2 separate regions of the Homo sapiens genome follow, and region 1 is linked to region 2. The links are contacts of gene promoters, found by promoter capture Hi-C in blood cells and fetal thymus (Javierre and others, 2016). All regions are on one chromosome and are shown on one strand. The core of a region is centred on a gene start or on the middle of the fragment in contact, and the rest is flanking DNA. Distances in the headings are between cores, read along the strand shown.

Region 1 (6,292 bases), core at 830-3,329, 980 kb before region 2:
AAAGTAAAGTACTCTATATTTGCTGAGTATTCATTTTTAAGTTTTGTTCATGAAGTTTATATGAGCCCAGTGAACCTGGTTGTGTGGTGTGTTTCTGTCAGTGCTCAGCTGCTTCAGTTGAATTATAATGTAGATAGGTAGTTGGGTTTGGCCAAAGGCCTGACAGGTGTGAATAGCAGAAGGAAAAAAGAATAGAAAATTTTCCATGATATTATTATAGTGCTGGACCATGAAATCTCAGTTGGGTGACAAATATGAAGCCATAAAAGGGATAATAGATTATGAATTATAGTGAAAAAATGGTAAGTTCACTGAATTGGAGGTCTTAATGAGGTCAAATAATTTTGGAGTGGGATCACAAGAATAGGAAGAGATAATAAATTGCAAGGGTTGGGGTCAAGGTCATGGCAAGGTCTAGGGTGTGCACATTTGAGTACACAGCTGTGGTGGCTTTTCTTTTGTGGTGATAGAGAGCAAAGAAGGCAGGGAGCAGTGCTGTATCATCAGCACAGCAAGAGCATCAAAACCAGCCTTATTGCTTTCACTCTTTTCCTCCAACATTCAACCCTAATCCTCACATGAAGAATCAGTGTTGGGCAGGCAAACCAGAATATGCTCACACCCTCAGCTTAAAACTCTTCAATGTCTCTCATTGTTCTTGGATAAAGAGCACAGTTCTTAAAATGGCCTCTAACACCATGTATTGACAGGCCTTGGCTGAGCTATCTTGCCAGCCTCATCTAAACAAAGCGCCCCTTCCTGACTTTGCTCCAGGCCTTGGGGCCTTCTTTCTGTTTCTCGAATGTGTGCTGTGCTTTCTGCCTGTGCTCTAGTGTTCTCACTCCTCAGTGAATCAGCTCTCCTGACCCCTTCAGGTGTCAGCTTGGTCAGCAATTCCTTGGAAAAGCTTTTCCAGACCTTCCGAACTACCGCAAACCTGATCCTCATGCCTCCAGAGTTCAGAAATGCAAAATAAAAAATAAAGATCATGTCCTACACTTCACAAATGTAATATATCAAAAATATACCAGTTTAGTGAGGTTATGGGAAAATATGCCCTGTGTTCTTTCCATTTCTTCTTCCACAAAGGTCTTTCCATTTCCTCTTCATCATTATAGCTCTTATACATTGCTGATTAAAGCACATGTGAGCTATAATGTGGGTTTTATACACCATTAAATTTATAAAAAGGATAAAAAGCACATATACACTATGAAACAAATTTTGTAATAATACAATACTAATAAGAGCATAATTTTGGTATATATTGCTGGAAAGTGAATAAATATATACCTAAAAGAGGAAGAACCACTATTATAACTGTATGTTTCAGTCAGTGGCAATATAAAGTATACTCAGAAAATATGCCCTTTAAATACTATGCTATATTAAGGCAATACAATTCATTCTTAGAATAATTTCAAAATTCACCAAAATGCTTAAAGATCTCTATAGATTATGTTTGGATAGAGAAACTTCAAATTAGTTTCTGGAAAATGAATTTAATGCGTTGAGTAGAATTAGAGAACAGACTCTCACTAAAAGCCTAGACCTATTTTCTGGAAATTTCCGTTGACTGTAACTAATGCAGCCACTTACTCTAATGCTATGTTTAGTTGTACTCTGCCACCACTCAGTTGTTTCTATCTGGCGTATCATGTGTGCTTATCCTCTCAGAGGTGGGCTATTCCAGGAAATTGCCTGTCAGACATCTGAACATCTACTGTTCTGGGGGTAATCTGGCTTTTTCCTATATTATTAGGTGAATTAGACAAAGAGATTTGTGCCTTATGAAAAAAACTCAATCAGATTTAAAAATATATAAAACATTCTTATCTATAAAAACAGAATAGATGGATAGAATTAAACTCTAATTATAGACATTGTCATACAAAGAAACATGCAAAATTAGAAAACTAGAACAAATGAGCATTTTGTGTTTTAATTTTTACCTAGAAGAAGAATTGAAAAAGTATACTTATTTTTAAATGAGAAAAAAAAACACTAATAAAAGTCAGGAAAAGGAAAAAACAAACATACCTGACTTTTCTCATTGTGTTCTATTTTAGATCCTAAGCACAAGTTATTTACTTTTTTAGACTTGGGTGTGGAGATTAAAGAGAAGGGACCGTAATATATAAGAGACAGCTCTTGGGATTTATCATCAATCACCTTGGGGTCATATTCTGATCAATCATGTAATCTCAGATAAATTACGTCCCATGTCTAAATTTTTGTTTTCCATAAATATAAGATGGAGATAATGAACATTCTTGTCCTATGTGCTTCCTAGGGTTGAGTCTATGATAAAATGTGGTAATGTATGTAGCAATTCTTTATAAATTACTAGGCAAATAATAATTATATTATCATTGTGTTAATTCTGAGTTTGGAAGGGGATCCTCCAATTCTCTGCAAATACTGATGCCATAAAAATTTATGAAGATCATTAAGCCTTATTCACTGCTTTGTGGAAGAGGAAATTGAAAGAACACAGGACATACTATACTATTGGACGTTTCTTTAGAATTGTCCTTGATGGCAATTTGGATTCCAAGTGGCTACTTCACCACTGTGCTATGAATGCAAGAACTGAAGCCTGCACAATGAAGCCCGAGCTTTTGAGGTGAATCTTATCTTGTTAGGGTGAGGTGGACAAAGAATGATATTAAAAGTGTATTTCTAAAAGACAGGATATGCAAGACCTTTAATGTCAATCTCTTATGGGAAGTATCACATTTTTATTCTGTATAAAGAATTGTGTTTTCATTATATCTCTGCATGTTAAAATATAGAGAAATCTGGTCAACAAGTGTGGAAATTCAATGAATCTATTAGCCATCACCTTTAGCTGTGGACTTTGGCCATGTTTGGCTATTTGCCACATTCAGTTAAGGAATCTTACAGGGAATAGATTTAGTAGGACTGTGAGGAAAGACTTAGGAATAATTTAAGGAATAAAGCTCTTGGGTTGGTCAAGAAGGATCTAAACTTAAGGGTCTAGGATGCAGGTCTTTATTTACTACAGATAGAATAACGGAAAAGAATAAGCAAAATAAAAATGTTAAAAATAGTAGACAGAAGAAACAATGGGCACTGTATATCTGTCCCCTAAGAAAATGCCAAATTCAAATCATCCTCTGGAGTTAAGTTGCCCTTTTCTCCTATCCTGTCTCCCACGTGAATGAAATGGACACAGAGTTTCATTTTCAGTGGACGCGTACATTTGCAGTATCTCAATGGGTTATAAACAAGCTTCATATAAAGGTAGTAAAATGTATTATTAACCCCCAAAGATATAATTGCCTTGTACATAAGGCAGTGATGATAGCATAGAAATGAAAATATTCAAAAACTCTCATTTCAGGCTCAGGTGATGCAAGTAACCATGGTAACGTTTCCTGACAGCCTTAATTTAAATAGCAGATTCCAAAGAAAAAATTCCAAATGGACTCCAGAAAGGAAATGGATTATTCAAGGTCCACATAAATCTAATTTAAATAAGTGCTTTACACAAAAATGGAAAGTCTTTAAGTTATAATGTCTTTAGCTTTGTGTTCAACTTTGATAATGATTTCTTTTCTTTTGAATGTATTTATTCACAATGATTCTTAGGTAGCAATCAAAAGCTTTCTATTGCTTTCCTGGTCACTGCAATCTATGGAATGATGCTATGCCAATGTCACAGAGAACAATATATTAAAAATAGAAGCAGCATCCAAATTCACAAGAGTTTTGATATGAGAATTTTGAGCAAACCAAATAGCTAGTTAACACAGCCATTGCTTTTCAATTCCCTATGTCCACAAAGAGATACACTTTGGAGCTACACATTTACAAGAAGGACATTTCCATAAATACATACATATTACTTCTATGTAGAAGTTTGGCTCCAAATTCTTATAGGTTCTCTCACCCTATTGAGCTGGACTCATTCATCATGCATAAGCTCATTCTGACTTTTTAGAAACAGATTAGATTTGAGCCACACATAAACCTGTTCCTCCATGTTTTCTTACTTCTTTCTGTTTTTGTTCCTACTTGTCTTTCTAAGGCGGAGAGCACATTCTTAGCTGAATCTTATTATGGTTCCAAAATAGGAAAAGCACAATCGAAGAGGAGAGAGAATTTTCCCAAGCACATTTAATTTTAATCTTTTTTGTTTCAGACTTTCAACCACTACTGGTGACCACATCCTATCATTGATGAGTCTATGTCTATTACAACTTTGTATATTATATCAGTGTTCTCTTTTCTGGAAGAGAGAAGCGGCAAAAAGCATCCTTGGAATTCTCTTGACAGTGATGACACATTACTGAATATATGGATGATTGTACCTTGTGAACTAATATTTGCAATGAGGTTTTATTTTAATTCATTGTATAGATTAATAGCATCTTTCAGTCAGGGACTATGCATATTTTTTAAAAAATAAATATGAAAAATGTGACACTATATGTTTCTAAAGCATAACATGAGTATTTGTTTAAAAAAATGGGTGGGAAATAAACGTCAGGTTTGATGAAGTTCTTCAGAATCTCTCAGGCCTGTACTTGATGAATCAAGAGTGAAGAAAAAAGAAATTCTGAAATGTCTTCTTCCTTACCTCACACACATTGGCCAAAACTTCCCGATATCAATTCAAACAGCAAATCTGAGCAGGGGTGTCAATGACTCAACTACTTTCAGAACTTAATAGAAATGACCTTGCATAGGCAACTCGTCTAACTCTTTGAGGAAAACTGATCAATTTAAGTTCATTTCACTTAATTTCAATGGATATTTGGCATTCTCTTGCTTTAATCAATCCCATGATTCAAAAGAAGCTATCAAAACCACTGTGATTTGTTTTCAAATTTCTCAAAATTTGAAAGTCTGCATTCAAACCTTCACAGCAATGCTTTATAAATAAAACAACAAAAAATTTAAACATGAATATTTCACGCAACTGGGCCTATGTTATTATCACAGCACTATATTCAAATATTCAAAGCCCATTATGGAAATACATTATGAGCTTGTAGCATCATTTTTGTATTTTTTTCTATATGACTTATGTATTTTTTATAGTACAGTGATATCTAAGTGTATTATCATTCTCTAAAACTCTTTTACATGATTACACATTTTCAAGGTAACTCAAAAAAATTCCTAAAACACTGATTTGTCATGGAACCTCGTGGGTATTTTAACACCAGAGAAATATCATTCATTCTACTCTACAAAAGGTGTGGTCTCTAACCCATGTTTAACTTAGTTAAAAAAAATCTGACGTATGTATATTACATTTTCTTTTGTGTCAAATACAAATTCTTAGAACATGTTTTAGTTCACATCTATTATGTATGAAAGTGCAAGAAGTCCTGGAATTTTCTGAGAATAGGGCATCCAGAATTTGAGACATTTGCAAATTTGTACTGGAAGTATAATTACAAGCCTTCTATTTTTGTCAGTGTTTTGACATTTCTAGTGGTTATCTTGCTATGTGCCGCATGTGTAATAAAGGGTTTTTTTCGCCTTTTTTTTCAGTTAGGCTATCATAGCTAAAAAATTTAAATAAGAGTGTTAGTAGAGATTTTACTTAGATACCCAAGTTATTCCAAGAAATAGGCCACTTGATGATGATAGTCCAACTATTACTCAGATGATGTTAAAGGACTGCAACTTGAGTGTGTTATTGTGTAGATGAATAATGCTTGCCCAAGATTCAAACTGAACAGTAAGAAAAGACACAAGAAAAGGTTAAATTTCAGTTTAGGTGGTCATTTTTAATGCTGGTAACTATCACTCCATAATTTTTCCAAACTTTCATTATTTGCACCGAAATTACAAAGCTGTGATTGGTAAACACAGATTAGTTAGGAAAATATGTGTAATATTTGAGAATAAAATCCTTATACTGATGTAAACACCAAATCCTATAAACAGTAGGTCCTGTCACAGGTTTACTTCCCCCAAAAGAAATGGAGCTGGCTTAGCCTTCTTGGAGGCAATTTCCAAATTTCACCCAACACACTCTAATCCCTGTACCCTGACTGATTTTATAGGAATTCCGATGTTTAATTTTGTTTATTGGCTTATGTGGCCTACGTACAGTTATTTTAAAATGCAAAATGAAGGACATACTTTCTGAAAGAAAATAAAAATCAATGACTGCTTGAGGTTGGCCAGGCCCTACCATAGTCCAACTCATCCACATAGTGACTTTGGGAAAAAATAGAAAAAAAAAGTCCCTTAAGAGTAAAATGCAGGCCAGTAGGCCCAGAGGAGGGCTGGTGGGGGCAGGATTAGC
Region 2 (6,364 bases), core at 1,493-3,992:
GAAAAGTTGGGGGATTCATTTTGCTTATCACAGTGGTGCATACATATATTAAACAATGACAAAACATTAGCCATCATTATTATCTTTATTCTTGCTCTGTATAATTCATGTTTGTATTTGCTACAGTGTATTTTGAACATATACAGTATATTTTTAACATGTCTATAATCAATGTTATTTAGGGGTTGAATCTGAATGAGGAAAATATGAAGATTTATTTCTAAAACTCAACTAAAAATAAAAAATAAAAGTTTCAAGATATATGGTTTATTGAGTTGTTGGCAATTTGAAGTTTAGGAATGGGTTAGGAGTAGGTAGGAATTTTATGATCAATAGAGCAATCAGTAACAGCTAAAATAGCCAGAAGGAAAATTTAATAATTAAAAGATTTGCAGTAACATAGAACTTAGGAGGGTGATCTCCACAGGGCCAGACTTAGGGAATGGGGTAGGGTGGGTGAAAGATGGCTTCACAGGAAGTGGCTAAAGTATGGAGCTAGGGTGTAAATATTCTAGATTAATTGGAGTCTTTCACAGAGTACCGTCATGTGCATGTAACAATGTTTTGGTCATGGACTGCATTACAATGGTGATCCCATGAGATTATATTTTTACTGTACATTTCTTATGTTTAGATACACAAGTACTTACCATTGTGTTACAATTGCCTACAGTATTCAGTAGAGTAACATGCTGTACAGGTTTGTGGCCTAGGAGCAATGGGCTATACCATACAGCTTAGGTGGGTAGTAAGCTATACCATGCAGGCTTGTGTAAGTGTGCTCTATGATATTCACATGACAAAAAACAAACAACAAAACCCCCATTGAAATATTTCTCAGAAAGTATCCCCGTCCTTAAGTGATGCATGAATGTGCTGCCTCCACAGTATATATTCAAAGGTGACCTTCATTGCATAGATTCACACACAAAAAAAGCCATGTGAAAATACCTTGCCCCTAGATTCAGGAATCTTCTGGACACACTCTTGTTTACAATTTAAATTATTTCCAAAAATTGATATATCTGTCGATTAAATACAAGTATTTGTGCGGCAGGAGAATAGGGTCTGGAAGCAGGGAAGCTAGGACTGATTTGTGCTGATGGGATATCAGTTGAAAGACTACTCCCCTTCAACCCCTCCTTTTTCTGCATGGCAGTTGCTGCCTGGCAGTTGCAAGCCCTTCTTTTTCTGTGTGGCAGTTGAAAAATGAAAGTGCCTCAGATTGGTCCCCTTCCTCAACCAATCAGACTTGTGGAAGACCAATGGGAAACCTCTAGAAGGTATTTAAACCCCAGAAAATTCTGCAACCTGTGCTTTTGAGCAGCTTGCCACAGCCTGCTTCCACGCAGTGGAGTAGTGTACTTTCATTTAAAATAAATCTCTGCTTTCGCTGCCTTGCTTTATTTGTGTGTTTTGTCCAATTATTTGTTCAAAACGCCAAGGACCTAGCCAACTACCCTCAACTGTTAACAGCTGCACACACATATCAAGGCACACCAGCTTCACCCTGCCTGGAGCTTCTTCCCATGCCTAGTTTTCTCTTACAATTCCGGTCTCTGCTCAATTATCACTTCTAAAAGAGGACTTTATAGAGACCACCATGTGTAAAACAGCTTTTCTACATGCCCCCGCCAGCTAATTTTTATTAGAGTACTTATATTATTTGAAATAATATTTTTACATGCCTCCATCCCCTGGAAAATGAGCTGAGTGAGGGATATTGTTGGAGTATCCCCAGTACCAGGCACACAGTAGGCATTCAATAAATAGTTTTTGAATGATTACATTGTCTACGGAATTCTAACATGTATGGGTGAAACAAAGACTCTCACATGCTGTGAGAAGAAAACAAAAACTGGGTTGGCAGAGGCCTTGAATATGAGGAAGTGGCCTTTCCGGATAAAGAAACTAAGACTCGGCCGGGCGTGGTGGCTCAGGCCTGTAATCTCAGCACTTTGGGAGGCCGAGGCGGACGGATCACCTGAGATCAGGAGTTCGAGACCAGCCTGGCCAACACGGCGAAACCCCGTCTCTACTAAAAATACAAAAAAAAAAAAAAAAAAAAAAAATTAGCCGGGCGTGGTGGCGGAGGCCTGTAATTCCAGCTGTTCGGGAGGCTGAGGCAGGAGAATCGCTTGAACCCGGGAGGAAGAAAGAAAGAGGGAATGAGGGAAGGCGGGAAAGAGGGAAAGAAGAAAAGAAAAGAAAGGAAAGAGAAGAGGGGCGGGGCGGGGCAGGGCAGGGCAGGGCAGGGCAGGGCAAAAAAAGACTCAGTGCAGGAAAGGACTTGCCCAAGGTAATCTAGTACGTGGAAAAGCGGAGGGCAGGAGCCTGTGCCGTGCAAGAGCTCCGGGGAGCCAACACCGAGCGGCCCTTTTGAGAGGGTCCCAGCCCCTGAGATGCGGGAGCCCGCAAGAGGGAACCTCTTGTCTGAAGAGGTTGCTGCGCTCTGGAGTCGTGCTCTGGGACAGATGGGCAAGCTCCGCTCTTGGGGCCGGAAGCGTGTAGCGTCTCCACCCGGGCTCCAATCCCCAGCCTCGCACTCAGCACCAGGCAGAGTTCAGCCTCCCGCCGCAAGCTCCCTTCCGCCGCTCCCGGCGAGCACGCAGGTCTGGCTGTCCGTTGGGCTAGAGCTTAAAAGCCCAACACGGGCGAAAAAGACGCGGTCTCAGTTAACGGGGACGCTTTAGAGAAACGCACTCGCCTCTCCTGTTCCGGTTGGGTCGGCGCGGGCTTCTCAGGCGCCACGTGGGATTCGGCCCGGGTGCTCTTGTGAGCTGCTGCTCCTGCGGTTGGTGAGATTACCTGGGTCTAGAGTGCGGAGCTGCTCCGTGGCCACGAGGACGTCACCATGGTGGGCCCCCTCCTGCTCCCCCGAACCGCTCGGTTGGTTCCCCGGAAGGCTCTTGTTGAGCAGGCAGAGAGGGAGGGTGCGGTTTCGGGAACCTAGGAGAGGGGAGGATGCAAAGTGTTTATTTTCAGGGAGTGTGCGGGGTGCGGGGCGAAGCCTCTGGGAGGCGAGTCCCAGGCCCAACGCCTGGACCTTAGAGTTCCGCGTCCGAGTGCTGAAGTGCTCACACGTCGCCTTGCTCCTCTTTGCCTTGTGCCTAACTTCTCGCTAGTCACTACTTCCTGGGGGAAACCCGGCACCTTTCCATTGTAACGCATCGAGGAGTTTGGCAAAACTTCTGAGATCGCTGGCCCTACACACCTCTGCCTCTCTGGCCTGGGTAGACTCAGTATGTGGGCTTAGTCGCCTCTTCCTCGGCGTCCGTTCACCTCTCGTTAGTGCCCTGAATCCTGCCGTTACGCCCCCATTCGCTCCAGGGCACTGAAGCAGTTTTGTTGTTTTTATTAAAAACTGAGTAGATACAAAAGAGTGTTACTAAAGCACATTTCAAGTGTAAAGATGAACAGTTTCAGGAATTCTCGTTTACCCATTTTGTAGTTTTAAGAAATAAAACATAGCCTTTGAAAGCCCTGTGTTACCTTCTTTGAACTTTCAGGAAACCTTAAGAAGCAAACATTATCTAAGTTTTGTATTTATAATTTCACTACTTTTCTTTATAGTTACTACATATATTTGTATTTTGAAACAGTATGTTGTTTCTTGCCTATTTTTTACGTAATCGTTGTGTTCTTGAGAGTAATTCTTGCATAGAAACATGCTTTATAAATTTTTTTCAATTAATTTTTAATAAAAGCAAAATTTTAAAAGTTTATAATCTGGTCAGAAGTTACGATATTGTGTCCACAATGTGGCCTCTTTGTTTCTTTTCATTTTTTTCTCTTTTCATTGTATGCCATTTTTGTCTTACAGTCTGGTTCTTTCGTTGTTTCGCGAGTTTTTTGTGCTTTATTTTGATCCACTGCTGACGCATATTTTGTACTTTAGATTGTACACATTTGTGTAAATTCAGTGTTTGCTTGTCACTTTGCTTGTGGGATTTCCAACTCTTTATAGTGTTAGTTTTTTTCCCCTTTTCAGAGTGGAATATGAAAGCAATTACATCTCATTGTGTTTGAGTGATTGGGGAGATAGATTGGTATTTGACTGTAGTTGTCCTTGACTATCAGAGCTTCACTTTTTATCAGGCTGTATAGTAGAAGTACGTTGCTTTGGCATAGAAGTCAAAAGAGTGGCATATGAACCTGTTTTCATTGGCTCATTTCTGGCTCTGTCATTTTTTTTTGATATAACCTCATTAGTGGTTTTGCTGCATCCTCTTTCAGTACAGCTCAGAATGTGGTCCCAAAGGACAGAGTTGGGCACCTGTCTTTCCCTGAGTTGCCATCTTGGCAAAATTACTTAACCTCCCATCTGTTTAATTGGGATAACAATAGTACCTACCTCATAGAATTGTGGAAATTAAATGTAAAGTGCTTAGTCTAGTGCCTGGCACTTAGTAAATGTTATTGTTATTAACTTTAGTTATATAAATAGTAACAGTGTACAGCTTATAGTTGTTCATCCTTGTTACTTTGCTCATTAATGTTCTCTTATTGTAAATCTTTGCTGGAGCTTAGCAAGTTCATATCTTTATATCAAAATTTAGTTTACCTGTTATATATAAATAATCTTTTCAAATTAATCCATTCCACTCAACACTTCTTTATGCTGCATTAAAAAGGTTTTTAGTGTTTATTATTTTTTATTTTTTTTTGAGACGGTGTTTTGCTCTTGTTGCCCAGGGTGGAGTCCAGTGGCATGATCGCGGCTCATTGCAACCTCCGCCTCCTGGATTCAAGTGATTCTCCTGCCTCAGCCTCCCGAGTAGCTGGGGTTACAGGTGCCAGCCACCACACCCAGCTAATTTTTGTATGTTTAGTAGAGACAGGGTTTCACCACATTGGCCAGGCTGGTCTCGAACCCCTGACCTCAAATGAGACAGGGTTTCACCACACTGGCCAGGCTGGTCTCGAACTCCTGACCTCAAATGATCCACCCGCCTTGGCCTCCCAAAGTGCTGTGATTACAAGTGTGGGCCACCGTGCCCAGCCAGGATTTTAGTATTTTTAAGTATGGCTCATACAATACTACTAGGCACCCATGGGTATACTCCTTTTTATATAAACCTGTCATAGAGCTTGTGTGTGCTTCTTTCCCTCCCTAGCTAGACTATATACCATTGAAAAGTGTGCCATCATCCTCCGTGCATTTATCCATGCACATTACTGTGGGGCATTAGCTGTTACTGACTACCTTAATGGTAGAGATTGTGTGTTTTGGGGACTACATCTATAAATGTGAGCCACAACAACAAATCAGCTTAATACATCTCATAGAGATTATCTGTTAGTGAAAACTTGCTCCTGAAAGTTAGTAAAACTAAAGAAAAACATTAATGGAAATCTACCTAGTATACCAATCTTTTTGAGACAATATTACTTGTACATGGTTTAAAACACTAAAAAATGGTTTCTCATAAAAATTGTATTAGTTTCTTATTAACTGCCATAGTAAAGTGATATGCATTTAGTGGCTTAAAGCAACACATTCATTTCCTGAAACCTCTGGAGGTCAGAAGTTCAAAAATGAGTCTTAACTGAGATAAAATTAAGGTGTTTGTCAGGGCTGTCTTTCTTTAAGGGGCTCTAATGAATTTTTCTGTTTCTAGAGGTCATCTACATTCTTTGGCTCCTTCCCTCTTCAAATCCAGCAGCATGGCATCTTTAAATTTTCCCCCAGAGAAGGTTACATTTTCTCTGACAGTGATCCTCCTGCCTTCCTCTTACATGGACCTTTAGGATTATGTTGGGCCCACCTGGATAATTTTCCCCATCTCAAGATCTTAATCACATCTGCAAGTCCTTTTTGTCATATATGGTAATATATTCCCAGGTTCTGGAGGAATCAGGGCGTGGATATCTTTTGGTCGGAGGAGGGCAGAGCATTATTGCGTCTGCCACAAAAAGACTTTTTCCAGCTCTCTTGCCTAATGCCCTGGTTCACTTGAGAAACAGCCACTGTTAACAGTTTCTTAGCTATCAATTCAGATACTTTATATGTATGTACCAGCATATATGTATGTTCCCTAACCTTTCTTTTTACATAAATGGTATACTGGACACCTTAGTCCCTTGCTTTTTTGTCTTACCTGATCTTATAGATCTATGTAAGTACATATAGATCCACTTCTTGCTTTTTAAACAGTGAATATTCCATTGTTTGCTTCTGTAACTTACTTAACCCGATCTGTGATAGACCTTTAAATTGTTTACATTCTTTTGCTACCACAGACATTGCAATACTGCTGCATTGATTATTTATCCCCCCTTTGGTACACGTGTAAATATGTCTGTAGAATAAATTAATAGAATTTCTTGGTTAAAAGATTTTTTTTTTTTTTTTTTTGAGACA

What was found. The method cuts DNA at HindIII sites, captures the fragments that hold promoters and counts their contacts. A CHiCAGO score of 5 or more calls a contact.
Region 1: a contact is called between a fragment that was not itself captured here and the fragment with the promoter of TMA16 in region 2, in 1 of 17 cell types (M2 macrophages). The highest score is 6.1, in M2 macrophages.

What each region holds. Positions count from the first base shown.
Region 1 is chr4:162,509,507-162,515,798 of GRCh38, forward strand. No RefSeq gene overlaps it. Among named protein-coding and RNA genes, the nearest start is that of FSTL5, 350 kb to the left of the region's middle. The HindIII fragment of the contact is 2,348 bases long and covers 906-3,253 here.
Region 2 is chr4:163,491,948-163,498,311 of GRCh38, forward strand. TMA16 (translation machinery associated 16 homolog) reads left to right here and starts at 2,743. Exons shown (of 7, transcript NM_018352.3): 1 at 2,743-2,857. The coding sequence starts at 2,855. LOC124900805 (a long non-coding RNA gene) reads right to left here and starts at 3,277. Exons shown (of 2, transcript XR_007058354.1): 1 at 3,215-3,277; 2 at 67-2,949. RefSeq lists a cis regulatory region at 1,081-1,352 and enhancers at 2,634-3,536, 3,000-3,139, 3,170-3,319. The HindIII fragment of the contact is 17,381 bases long and covers 1-6,364 here.